3 separate regions of the Homo sapiens genome follow, and all the other regions are linked to region 1. The links are contacts of gene promoters, found by promoter capture Hi-C in human tissues and cell types (Jung and others, 2019). All regions are on one chromosome and are shown on one strand. The core of a region is centred on a gene start or on the middle of the fragment in contact, and the rest is flanking DNA. Distances in the headings are between cores, read along the strand shown.

What was found. Contacts are between HindIII fragments. The study calls those that stand out against the background at their distance.
Region 2: a fragment that was not itself captured here is called in contact with the fragment with the promoter of ONECUT1 in region 1 in 1 of the 25 tissues and cell types used here (lymphoblastoid cells).
Region 3: a contact is called between a fragment that was not itself captured here and the fragment with the promoter of ONECUT1 in region 1, in 1 of the 25 tissues and cell types used here (lymphoblastoid cells).

Annotation. Positions count from the first base shown.
Region 1 is chr15:52,788,185-52,792,188 of GRCh38, forward strand. ONECUT1 (one cut homeobox 1) reads right to left here and starts at 2,152. Exons shown (of 2, transcript NM_004498.4): 1 at 596-2,152. The coding sequence starts at 1,700. It overlaps LOC105370824 (a long non-coding RNA gene), which reads left to right and starts at 2,246. Exons shown (of 2, transcript XR_001751550.2): 1 at 2,246-4,004. RefSeq lists enhancers at 2,148-2,442, 2,439-3,207, 3,208-3,975 and a silencer at 2,190-2,259. The HindIII fragment of the contact is 12,558 bases long and covers 1-4,004 here.
Region 2 is chr15:53,504,008-53,508,011 of GRCh38, forward strand. The region is part of intron 1 of LOC105370826 (a long non-coding RNA gene); the gene reads left to right. Among named protein-coding and RNA genes, the nearest start is that of WDR72, 250 kb to the right of the region's middle. The HindIII fragment of the contact is 6,069 bases long and covers 1-4,004 here.
Region 3 is chr15:52,257,114-52,261,117 of GRCh38, forward strand. It overlaps MYO5C (myosin VC), which reads right to left. Exons shown (of 41, transcript NM_018728.4): 10 at 3,749-4,004. Among named protein-coding and RNA genes, the nearest start is that of MIR1266, 18 kb to the right of the region's middle. RefSeq lists enhancers at 204-780, 3,087-3,662. The HindIII fragment of the contact is 4,159 bases long and covers 1-3,873 here.

The DNA of each region.
Region 1 (4,004 bases), core at 902-3,401:
GTCTGTGCTACACACCCACCGCCCAATGGCTCTGAAACTTTTTGCCCATACTCTTAGATTGAGGTCACCCCAGCCAGCGCCAAAAGAATGAGCGCGGGAGGGGGTCACAGCAGCCAGTTCGGCCAAACATCGACGCTGCTCCGGCACGCTCCAGCCCAGCGCCTGGGATGTGTCAGAGGTACCTGCGAGGAACATTTGCGTGCGATTCCACGCACGCGTTGCATCCCTCTTCCCAAACCCGGATCGCTGAACTGAGAGGTGGCGCAGAGTGTCTCACCAGGTGCGGGGATTTCTCTCCGCCTCAGGCCGTACGAGCTTCCCTCGCTGTCCCTGAGCGCAAATGAGCCTCTTCAGTCGCCGAGGCCCGGCCGCTTAGCTCTCGGAGCCTTCCACAGCCCAACACCCTGAGCCCTGGAGTAGGCAATTTGCTCCCACAGCCCTGTGCTGGCCCTTCCAGGCACAGGGAGTCCCCCTTCTAGGGGTAGGGGCGGGCGGGATGAAGCGCACCCAGCCCTCTCTCCTACCCTTCCTCCTTTGGTCCCTTCGGCTTTCGTGTACCTTATCTCCCGCGCGCCCAGCTCCTTGGCCGGCTCACCTGCTAAGCGGAGCGCGGACATGCGCTGGAACTCCGGCTCCTGCAGCCACTTCCACATCCTCCGGAAGGTCTCCCGGCCGGATTTGAGTTTGCTCCAGGGTTTGGGGTTGCGCAGCAGGTCCGAGAGGGTCCCCTGGGAGCGGCAGAGCACCCTCTGCGCGAAGATGGCCTGTGGGATGCTGTAGCGCTTGAGCTCGGTGGTGATACGCTGCGCCACCTCTTTGGTATTGATCTCTTCCATCTGCCCTGAATTACTTCCATTGCTGACCTGCGCGCCGGTCACCGAAGGGTTGGGCTCCCGGGCTGTGCCCAGGAGTTGCCCGTGGCCCTGGGCGTTCAGGTGGGCGTGGGGATGGTGCGGAGGAAGGCCGTTGATGGGCACCATGCCGGCCGAGGTGGGCGTGAGGTGCTGCTCCCCGTGGCGGCCGAGCATGGCCGGGTGGTGGGCTTCGAAGCCGTTGGGGGTGAGCATCTTGTCGGTGGGCATGGCGGCCCCCGGGTGGGCATAGTGGGGGAGCCCTTGCTGGGAGTTGTGGATGCTGCCCAGACCGGAGCTGGAGAGGGGCGAGAGGCTCTGGCCCATGCCGGCCACGTCCTTGTGGTAGGGGGTATAGAGGTTATTCATGGAGGCCAGCCCGCGCTCATCCCGCATGAGCGTGAAGCTACCGCTCACGTTGCCCGCCAGGCGCTGGTGGTGGTGCGGGTGGTGGTGGTGATGGTGGTGGTGGTGATGGTGGGGGAACTTGTCCGAGACTGTGGAGATGGGAGGCAGCGGCTGCAGAGGGGTCAAGGTGGTGTAGGTGGTGGGCATGCTCATACCTGGGGGAGTCTCGCAGGCCATGGTCATGGTGGGATGCAGGGGGCCGGCCAGGCTGTGCTCAGGGGCCCGGTGGTGGTGGTGGTAATCTCCGCCGCCGCTGCCGCCGTCCAGCAGGGACGCCATGCCCATGGAGCGCGGGTGCGCGGGGGGCAGGTGGCTGCCGCGGTGCGCCACGGAGCTGCGCGCGTGGGGGCTGCCGCCCAGCAGGTCGGCAGGGGCGGGCACCGGCTCATGGCTCACCCCGTGCAGCTCGCCGATCGCTTCCATGGTCAGCTGCGCGTTCATCGTGATCCGGGCGAGCAGGCGGCGGACACAACATCGATGTGGCCAGGCAGAGGCGGCGAGGGGCGCACGGAGTCCGGTCTTCACATCGGCTGCTGGCGACTGTTGCCTTCCTTCCTCTCACTGTGGGGCTCTGTCTCTCTCTCTCTCTCTCTCCGTGTGTGTGTGTCCGTGTGTGCGTGTGCGTGTGTGTGTGTGTGTGTGTCTCGCCTTCCCTCTTACCCCCCACCTTCCCCTCTGCGTCCTCGGCTTTTTTTTTTTTAATATTAATTTCCAAAGAGGATCCGCGCCGTTGGGAGAGCGCAGTGCCCCAGCCCGCCCGCCTCGGCCACCTCTCGCCCCTCTCTTTCTTAAAATTCTGAGGTCTCCGGCTCCCCTGCCGCGGCCCGCGCGCCTGCCGCGTCTGCTGCCTGCCCGCCCCGCTGGCCAGCTTGAGCCATGGCTCTGTTACTGTTACAGACTCTGTGGCCGCGGTTCGGTAGCCGCCGCCGCCGCCGCCGCAGCGGCCCGCCCTCACGCCCGCCAGGCGCAGCGCGCATGCGCGAGGCCCGCCCCCGCCCCCTAGGTCGCGGCGCGCCAGGCCCTTGGCGTCCCGGTACAAATGAAGGAGGGGGCCCAGCGCCTTCCCTGCGGCGCTGGATGGCCAGGGAGCTGCGGGCACGTGCGAAAGATTGGCGCAGAGCGCGACCTGGGGCCGCCGCTGCAATCCCAGGAGACTCGCGCCTGGCTCGCTCGCCTCCCTTGCTTGAGTGGGCTCTGTCCTCCCAGCCCGGGGACGCTCGTGTCGGGCTTCTAGCGGCTGGAGTGCTGTGCTTGGAGACATCGCCCCTCTCTCTCCAGTTGCTGCTTCCCGGTGCAGCTTGCCCGGGGAGCTGGGGACTGTGTCATCACCCCTTCGGCTCTAGCCCACTAAGCTTTATTTCCCGGGGGGCTGCTGGGAGTGCGCTTTCCCACCCTTGAATTCACGGCCTATTGGGGGATGGGGGTTGGGGTGGGGTGGGGTGCAGATTGCTTAAAGGGCTGGGTCCGTTTGGCGGCCGTTGACCCGGCACCCTTCGTCCTCCCAGATACATACTTGCCCACCCTTTCTCATCCATGCCCTGGGGAGAGGAGTAATCAGTGCCAAGAATCCCAGTTCGGGCCATACCTCACTGTCCCCCGCCGCCTGGCTCCTTCTCCCGCTCAGCTCATAATTAAGGCTGTGCGTCCGCTTCGCCGATGACTCGGCCTGTGGAGGGGGGCGAGGGAGAGCGGAGGGAGTGCCCTGGAGGGTACCCATGTTAACTTCCGGGTGCTGGTGGGGCCGTGGAGGCTCGGGCCGTCCCTGCGGTTACTCCCAAGGCCCTCCTGCTAAAGCACCCGGAGGCGGTTGCTTTCCAGAAGTACTGACGCAGACAGGGTGGACGCCGGCGCGCGGGTCTCCGCTTGGCCCCTAGGGACGCCCTTTTCCCGGCGTCCCCGAGAGACGCCTCCAGATTTGAAAATCAATTCAGCTTCGGGAGTAATTTCGCCCTTCCCACAGTCACGCTCCAATCTGGAATCGAACCTGGTCTTTGGGCCTGGTGGGGACGTGTGCGGAGGCCCCCAGTTTGAGACGTACACCCGGCCGCCACATGCCGCGGCTTTCTTTCATTTACAAAAGAAAGAAAAAAAATCCGCAACAAAAGGCAGAGCCGTGTCCGCTTAGGTGCTTTCATCCCTCAGAGAAAGGACAGATGTGCCCATTGTCCAGCCCGTGGCAGTTATGGCCGGGTCAGCGCCGAGCCTCAGCCCCAGGCAAGCGGTGGTTACAATGAGAATAGCCTCTCAGAGCCGGGGTATCTGGACTCAGATATGGAATAAAGTGTGTGTAGCCTGTGCTGGGCCAGACTCAGACTGTAGGTTTGCTTGCTGGGGCACCGAACTGCAGCCCACCCGTGGTGTTTCCACTGCAAATGCTCCCAAGCCCTTAGAGAGGCCAAGGCTGTGGTAGTGGTGGTAGTTGGGTTTCCAAGGCAAAAGTTTGGGCTGGCCAACCCTTTGGGAAAAGTTCCCACCGGCCCAGGCATGAGTAGGCCTATCTCTTTGCCCAGGTCCCTGCTACCACCAGGGCAACATCCTAATCCAGGTAGGTCAAGTTCAGTGGATACAGTCAACGTGACTTCCTTGAAGGCGGCCATGTCCTGGGACTGGTTAATCTAGCTGGTTTTATCACCAGAGGCACTCCCATCCTGTCCAAACAATGCATATGGAGGCCCTGCAAATAATTCATCTCAATGGATTTCATGTCTACTTTCATAATGAACAGTTAGGAATTTAGGAACCCCC
Region 2 (4,004 bases), core at 979-3,478, 720 kb after region 1:
CTCAAGTCCATCTCACTAAGATTACTTCAATATAATAGGATATATAAAGTTTTAATATTTTATGTACTTAATTTGTCCCTCAACTTTTTAGAGTGCCTTTATTCTATTAGCAAATATAGAATTCACTAATTTATTGTTATAATATGGTGGAGAGCAAGGGATGCTTTACAAAAGGCTTCACAAGCCCTGCTAAGGGAATTTGGAGGGTGTTCAAGGAAGTCAAATAATAGGTTTGTGTTGTAGAGTTGGCTTGAGCAGCAGTGTGGAGGATGGACTGGAGGCAGTCAGGAGTCCGCTGCTGCAGTGCAGATGGGAAATGAGTCTGAACTGAGGATGTAACCAGGGGGAGGCCAAGAGGACAGACTCAAGAGCCATTTAGGAAATCAAATAAAAAATTTTTGGAAACAAATTTTATGCTGGGAGTGAGGAAAGAAGAGATTTGTTGAGTCAGAGAATGAGTTCAGTGTGGAACACGGGGCTGAGGTTCCTGGGGGATGATCAGGAGAAGATGGTGGTTATGCAGGTGAATATGTGAGCTTGGAGCTTGAGGTGAAGCTGTGCATGAGGGGGTCTGTGCTTTGGAAGCATCTGGTTTTAAGAAAACAGGAGGCATTGAAAAAAGAGGAAAAAATATAGTGATTACTATACTTTCTTTTAATCTTACAGTAAATGTAAAAATTGCCAAAATGAGCTTTATATTGAAGTCAGGCTAGAGGACAGTATTCTGAAATAAATAAAACTCAATATAACACTTTATGAACTTTTTCATTGGAATTTATGTTGGAATTTACCTTACACCAGTGTTTTTTCAACTGGGTGCAATTTTGTCCCTCCAGGAGACATTTGACAGTGTCTGGAGACATTTTTCTGCTTGTCCTAACAGTAGGGGGTAGGCAGTTACTGGCATGTAGTGGTGGAGGCCAAGGATGCTGCTAAATATCCTGCAACTTAAAGGACAGTCCCCACCAAACAAAGGACTCCCTGGCCCAAGATGTCAATAGTGCTGAGGTTGAGAAACCCCTGCCTTAGACAATCGAGCTTAGACAATTTTAGAAAAAGAGTTCAAATCATCCTTAAATTGTTTTCCTGATCAAGAAACACCAGAGAAGGACTTTTGCTGTAATGCGTCAAAGAACCTTGATATTCTGGCTGGGAAGTCCATTCCATTAGCCTTTCAACTCAAAAGGATGTTTCCCTGGTTAAGAGCCCTTACGTGCATAGGAGTACTCTGTGACCACACAACATTGAGGGCGCCAAGAATGTATGGTATATTCACTCAGGGAACCCCACAATGTAGGCTAGCAATCAATGCAAAGATAACAAGTTCAATACCATGGGAATAGATGGGAATGTACATACCACCAAGGACATCTAAAACATGAAGCTTGAAAATGGCCATTAAATCTGACTATTGCATTGTTAAATATGAGGACAGAAAGATGTGAGTGGTCAGCAATATAACATAATGGTGAAGGCCACACATTGCTGAATCTGACATTGCAAGACTCCTGGTCCATGTGATTTGGTGCCTAGCTGGTAGAGAGTGTTATCAATGGAGCAAAAGAACACCTAGATCCAGCCCACTGTTTCCAAAGTGACCCTCCACTAAGGGCTTCCAGGAAATTGATACAAATACATTGATAGTATTAATGCCAGGAATATAACACCTATAGGTTTTTTAATCAAATCAATAATTTGTTGATCAATATTTGTTAAAAGTGATGACATTGATTCTACTGGTTTCTGTCATAACGAACGAGAGTAGATGAAACGGATTCATGATTTTTAAAATGCAGTCCTAATACCCCTTATGAAAAACTGGGAACCATAGATAAGAAAGGCAGTTATAAAAGACTGAATGATTCCAAAGAGTCAGAAAGCAAAGGCTGCATGCTTAGAAACTATGCTGTAATGTTTAATTCCTTTTCCCACTGTTTACTAGCTGTGTGGTCTTCAGCAAATTACTCAACCTGTCTGTGTTTCTGTTTCCTTTTATACCTAATAAGGATAAAATCTATCCTATAAAATAGCTGTGAAGATTAAGAAACTATATGTAAAGTACTAGGCACAGCACAGCCATAAAATGTTCAGTAAATGTTAGCTGTTAGAAGAGTATGTATTTAACAAACACAAATGTATATGAACGCAAAATTTAAATGAATTTTAAAAGATAAACTACAAGATGAGAAAAAATTTCACAGCTCCAGTGTTCTACTTTGGAGCTACTTTTGTATACTATTATGCTTTTCTTCTGACAACACTTTGGAATAACTTTTTGAGAGGCAAAGAAGTAGGTGGCCTTCTAGGTCCCTAGACAGCTATGCAGGCATAGAATATTTTTCACCAATATTTTTAGCTGATATCCAAAAGTGACCTTCTGAACAGCCAGATACTCAATATTGTATTCAGCTGTTTAATGTTTCATCATCCCACTCATTAATCACACATAACACTCATTAATCAAGTTACAAAGGAGGATCATTACCAACCGGGGCCATAGTGCAGGAAAATTCCTGCCTGCAAGCCACATCAGTAGGCTTTGCATTACTCCAAAGACCGGGTAGTGGCCAACTGGGGTAGAACAGCATCAACTGGGTGACATTTCTGTGGAGTTCAGAGGAACTGTAAGACCTGGGTAGTTTCTTAAGTTACAGCCCTAAACAATCAGAGAAATGCAACTACAGGGCCATACACAAAGAAGGCTAATAGAGATGAAATACTAAAAGATTCCAGATAACTCTTTTTTGTAAATAAATTAAATATGCCAACATTTGCTATAACAAAATTTGTAAAGTGGGAATTTACCCATTATTTCAGATGAATTAAAGTTCCTAATTTTAGTGCTTTTTAAAAAATTATATTTATAGCATGATCTCGGCTCACTGCAGCCTCTGCCTTCTGGGTTCAAGAAATTCTCCTGCCTCAGCCTCCCGACTAGCTGGGGTTACAGGTGCCTGCCACCATGCTCGGCTAATATTTTGTATTTTTAATAGAGACAGAGTTTTGCCATGTTGGCCAGGTTGGTCTCAAATTCCTGGCCTCAGGTGATCCACCTGCCTCAGCCTCCCAAAGTGCTGGGATTCTAGGCGTGAGCCACTGTGCCCAGCCCACGTTATTGATTTATAGAGAATAAGGATTTAGCTTTCCTTTCTCCCATCCATTCCCTTCACACAATTCCCTCATCCTCCTGATAGTTTCATTATATCTTTTTGTTAGAGTAATAATTATTTGGTAATAATTAGTACTAGAATTACTACAGTTGGGTCATGTAATACACTATGATTACATTTCTTCTATTTCTCCTTCTTTTTTATTCGTTTAGTTTTCTGTCATATACAATACTTCACTACTTCATGACCCAAGCCCATTGACAGAACTCTAACATTACTCTCAGTAGAGTCAGACTTACCGAGTAATCTGTCAGTTCCGTTGTTGTCCTGGAGACGTCCCTATGGGAATCCTCTACTTTCTGCTAAAATCTAGACCAGCTGCTTTCTAGGCTTGAGCACAGCAGTAGACATGCCATCTGCCTTCCCTGTCCTCTGTGGACATTTCTTCATTCCCATGTTGCATATGCTAAACTTTTCTGGTTTACTCCATTTTGTAGGTGGATCATATCCTCCAGCAATTTCATGGGAAAGAGTGCATGGAAGAAATAGATTGCCTAAGTATAATTCTAGGAAGGTGATGGTTTTCATCAGGATATTTAAGTCATTGCCACATTTTCTTCTGGCATCCAGAATTGCAATTAAGAGCTCTAATGCCATACGGATTCCTAATTATTTGTATTGAGCAAAAGTTATCCTTCCTTTTCTAATGTTAAGAACATTTCTTTTGCTCTAATATTCTGAAGTTTCACTAAAATGTACCTTGATATGGGTCATTTTTATGAATTTTGCTGAGCACACCATAGGTTCTTTCAATCTGAAATTTGGTTTCATCAGTTCTGGAAAGTTTGCTTGATTTTGTTTTACATAATTTTCTTCCCCCTGATTTCTCTGTTT
Region 3 (4,004 bases), core at 544-3,043, 530 kb before region 1:
CTGACTGTGATGCCTGTGCCTCCAATGAGAAGGCAATGTGGTTTCCTATTCTCTCCTTGTCTGTTGAGGGGAGGAGCAGCACAACTGCAGCACAATTTTGCCTCCCTAAGGGGTGCTTTCATAGCTCCTAGAGGAAAAGGGCAAAGTCATTTCATATCCTACAGCCCAGCACACCCCATCAGGGACGAGACAGACATGGCTGGCTTCCATATTCAGACTTTCATCAGCTGCCTCTGCAGTTGCCTTGGAGTTGCAAGCTCAAGAACTGAGAGGAGCCCTTGGGGAGGCAGCTGCTACTCAGCTCCTGCCGGATGTAGCCATGGATGAATGCGGCCCAGGATGTTAGATTAATTGATTCTTAAGAAAAGTCAGAAAACTGGGACTTTTAAGTGAATAATCCCACTCTGCAAAACGTGGGCCGAACAAAACAGAGGCACCAAATTTACCACCTGGCCAGATGAGCTCCTGCTGGAAGGCAGCTTGCTGAGCACTTTTAAGGTGTCAGCATTTATGCACGTCACCTCCTATAACCCTAACACAGCCCTATGTGAAGGGCTCCTGTGACTCCACTGTCACACACGAGGGTCAGAGAAGGAGTGACCATGGTGAGGACCAACAGCCAGCAAGTGGTGCCAGAAATGCAATTCGACCCCAGTGCTTGGTGCCTCCAAAGCTTTGTTCTTAATCGCTCTAATCCTGAGAGGTTCCTGCCGGCTCCTATCACAGGTCCCCTGGGAGTCTCACTTGACTGAGCTGGTTTGGCTCAATCTGGAATTCCTGGGCAGGGTAAGAACCTGGACTGTCCTCTAGACAGCTCCAGGGTGATTCATAGCAGCTCTGACAGCCCCATTCCACACGCAGCCTTGGTGGCTCAGAGATTCGGAGGCTGGTCTGCTCATGGAAGCAAGGCCAGGGCTGGGCCTGGGGGAAGATTAAAAAGGGTCTCACTGAGCTCTGCAGCTCACAGCTGGGGCCAAGGGCAGGGCTTTCTAGAACCTGGCAAAATGTCAAACATCAATGCATTATTTTGGGGCACAAAAATCTGAAGTTTAGGACCCATGGAAAGACCTAGATCTGTGACTTAAAATGCTAGAGGCACATTGGCTATGAAAACACTTCACACTGGAACCATGCTTATGGTTTTCAAGGTACCTGCATAATTTCTTCCATCATATGTTCAAAATCACCCTGCAAGAGAGGCCCCATCTTGTAGATGCAGAAACTAAGGCTTGGAGAGGTTCTGTGACTTTCTTGAGGTCACGTAACTGGTATGCTACGGAGCTCATTCCCAGGGGTCTGACCCCCAGACCCAGGTTTTTCCAACTCTGGGTCCAAAGAACATAAATACACGACAGGCTGGGGAGTCACCAGCCTTCATTCACTCTCAGCTTAGACCTTGAAGCTCACAGCTTCAGCTTTACTGGCTTTCAAAGATGCTAAGTCTTCCTTTGAGGCTTCCTTATTTCCAAGTCAAAAAGAGCTTTCTCAAAAGTTGCAGGTATGCCTAGGCGAGGGTTAGCCTAGAAGCGAGGCTGCTGGAGGGGGCGGGAAAGGCTTGGCCCCAGGCTGCAGCCCTGCTGCCTAGAGGAAAGCTGATTTTTTTGGAGGCGTATCATGAACTCAAGGGTGGCAGCAAACAGGCTATTGTTAGAATTTTTGAGAGGAATCTTAAAATAATTTACTCTAACAAGTCTTTGTGTATTTATAAATACTCTTGTCTCAGGTTTTTCCACATAGCTGAAAAATTCAAATTCCTTATTACAGTGGTTCTGGATCCTGCCTGGGGGCCACCGTCCAGCTCACTACTCCTTGCACATGGCTGCCCTTGCTCTGTCCCCACCCTCTGCTAACCTCCAGCACACCTTCCTCCCTTCCCAGGACTCATCCTAACCTCTACTGCCGGCCTGCTGCCCTCACCAGTCTCAGTCCCACGGTGGCAGGAGCCGTACATCTATGCTGTTCAACCACTGCCTCCAACACAGTGCCTGGGACATAAACATCTGTTAGATAAAAATATGAAATAATGGCTGGGTGCAGTGGCTCACGCCTGTAATCCCAGCACTTTGGGAGGCCGAGATGGACAGATCACAAGGTCAGGAGATCGAGACCATCCTGGCTAATACGGTGAAACCCAGTCTCTACTAAAAATAAAAAAAATCAGCCGGGCGTAGTGGCAGGTGCCTGTAGTCCCAGCTACCCAGGAGGCTGAGACAGGAGAATCGCTTGAACCTGGGAGGCAGAGGTTGCAGTGAGCCGAGATGGTGCCACTGCACTCCAGCCTGGGCAACAGAGCAAGACTCCGTCTCAAAAAAAAAAAAAAGAAAAAAAAGAAAGAAATAATATACTGTTAAAATAAAGGACTGTCATTTAAAAATACATCTTAAAAACACCCAAAAGAACAGGGAATAACAGAATAATTACGTATTTCCACCACAATGAAACAGGACTATTTTTAATGAGGACTATCCATTTTTAAAAGTTCACTTAAGCTTTTAACTGGCTGCTCAAACACTTTCTGGGAAGAAGACAAGGTAAATAATTGACTAGGCTATCCCAGTAATGTATTAAGCATTTTATAACTGTTGACACGTACTATTAATTGGGAGCCATATGTATTAACTTAGGATCTAAATTAAACAAAGCAGCTCCCTTGACTGTCTCCCATTTGACAGCTATGGGAAAAGCTGCCTCTCCACCTGGGTGCAAGTCCAACAGCGTGGTGTGGCCCTGTCCCCCTCCTCCCCAGGAGGCAGCAGCAGGGCCGTGAAGGCCAGAGCTCAGCTCTCCCCTTTGCATGGGGAATGGGGTTGAGCTGCTTTTTGCCATGGTGTGGGGAAGATCCCCCAATCCAGGTGGAACACTCCAGGATGCCTTTCATGGGTCAATCTTCCCCTTCTCCTGTTAAGAAACCAGGGTGGGTCCCAGGAGAGGGGCAAGGGCTGGGCACTGGGGCCAGCTGCTAGAAAAGCCTGAAGGATAACAATCTCCACAGAGCCCTCCATGCCAGCTTCCACTCTGGTTACTCCATAGCTGTTTCAGCACGAGCTGAGCCCGGGGTTTAGAAAAGGAGGACCAGGCAGAGAGAATGAAAAAGAACCCAACTCCAGGGTGGGATGAAGGGTAAGACCTCCTGGAGGAGGGCTGGGGAAAATCCAAGACCTTCTCACCCAAGAACGGAAAAGGATTGGGGTAGGGGGGTGGTTGATCAGAGACCTGGGTTCAGTCCACCTCTGGCCGCTGGGCTTGGGCAAGGTGCAAGCCTAGGTGACTTGTCATCCCCTGTGATTCGAATGGGAAGGGACCTTGGGGCTCCACACCTCAGGGGCCTTTGGTGGGAAAAGCAAAAGCAGGAGCCTCACAACTGTGCTGGGTTCTCCCACCAGCGGAGCAATTGTGACGAAGTTATTGAGTCTTTCTAAGCCTTGGTTGTTGCAGCTCTACAACGGGGATAGTTATAAGGTTGTTTAAGAAATTAAGTGAGAAAGCCCATGGAAGCCAAGCAGCCTCAGAGCTGGCACACAGTAAGCTCTTGACATTGGTCATTCCTAATTCAGCATCTCTTTAATGCACTTTGAATAAATGGCACCATAGCCCAGGAGAGTGTACTTAGCATCTATAGGGGCAAAAGCAGAGAATGTTATCTTTCTAATCATGTGAAATACAAAAGAACCAGAACAAAATGATCTAAAAACCATGCGGCTCTCAACATTTAAAGGAGGAAAGACAGGCTCACTGAAGAGAATCTTACCCATAAATGTCCAAAACACCAATAAAAGTGTGCTGCTTGCCTGAAAACTGCAACGCTTGGTTAATTCTCTCCACAATGAAGTCGAACAGGTGAGCATAGATCTTTTTGGCCAGTGCATCCCTGGCGTTGACAGCCTGAGGCCTGGTCATGGGTTTTACCACCGTCTCAGAGCTTGTGACGATTTTGCGATTGCACAGCCACTGAGCAACTCTGCCACTCTCCAGGCCCAGGAGCTCACAGAACACCTTCAGGTGAC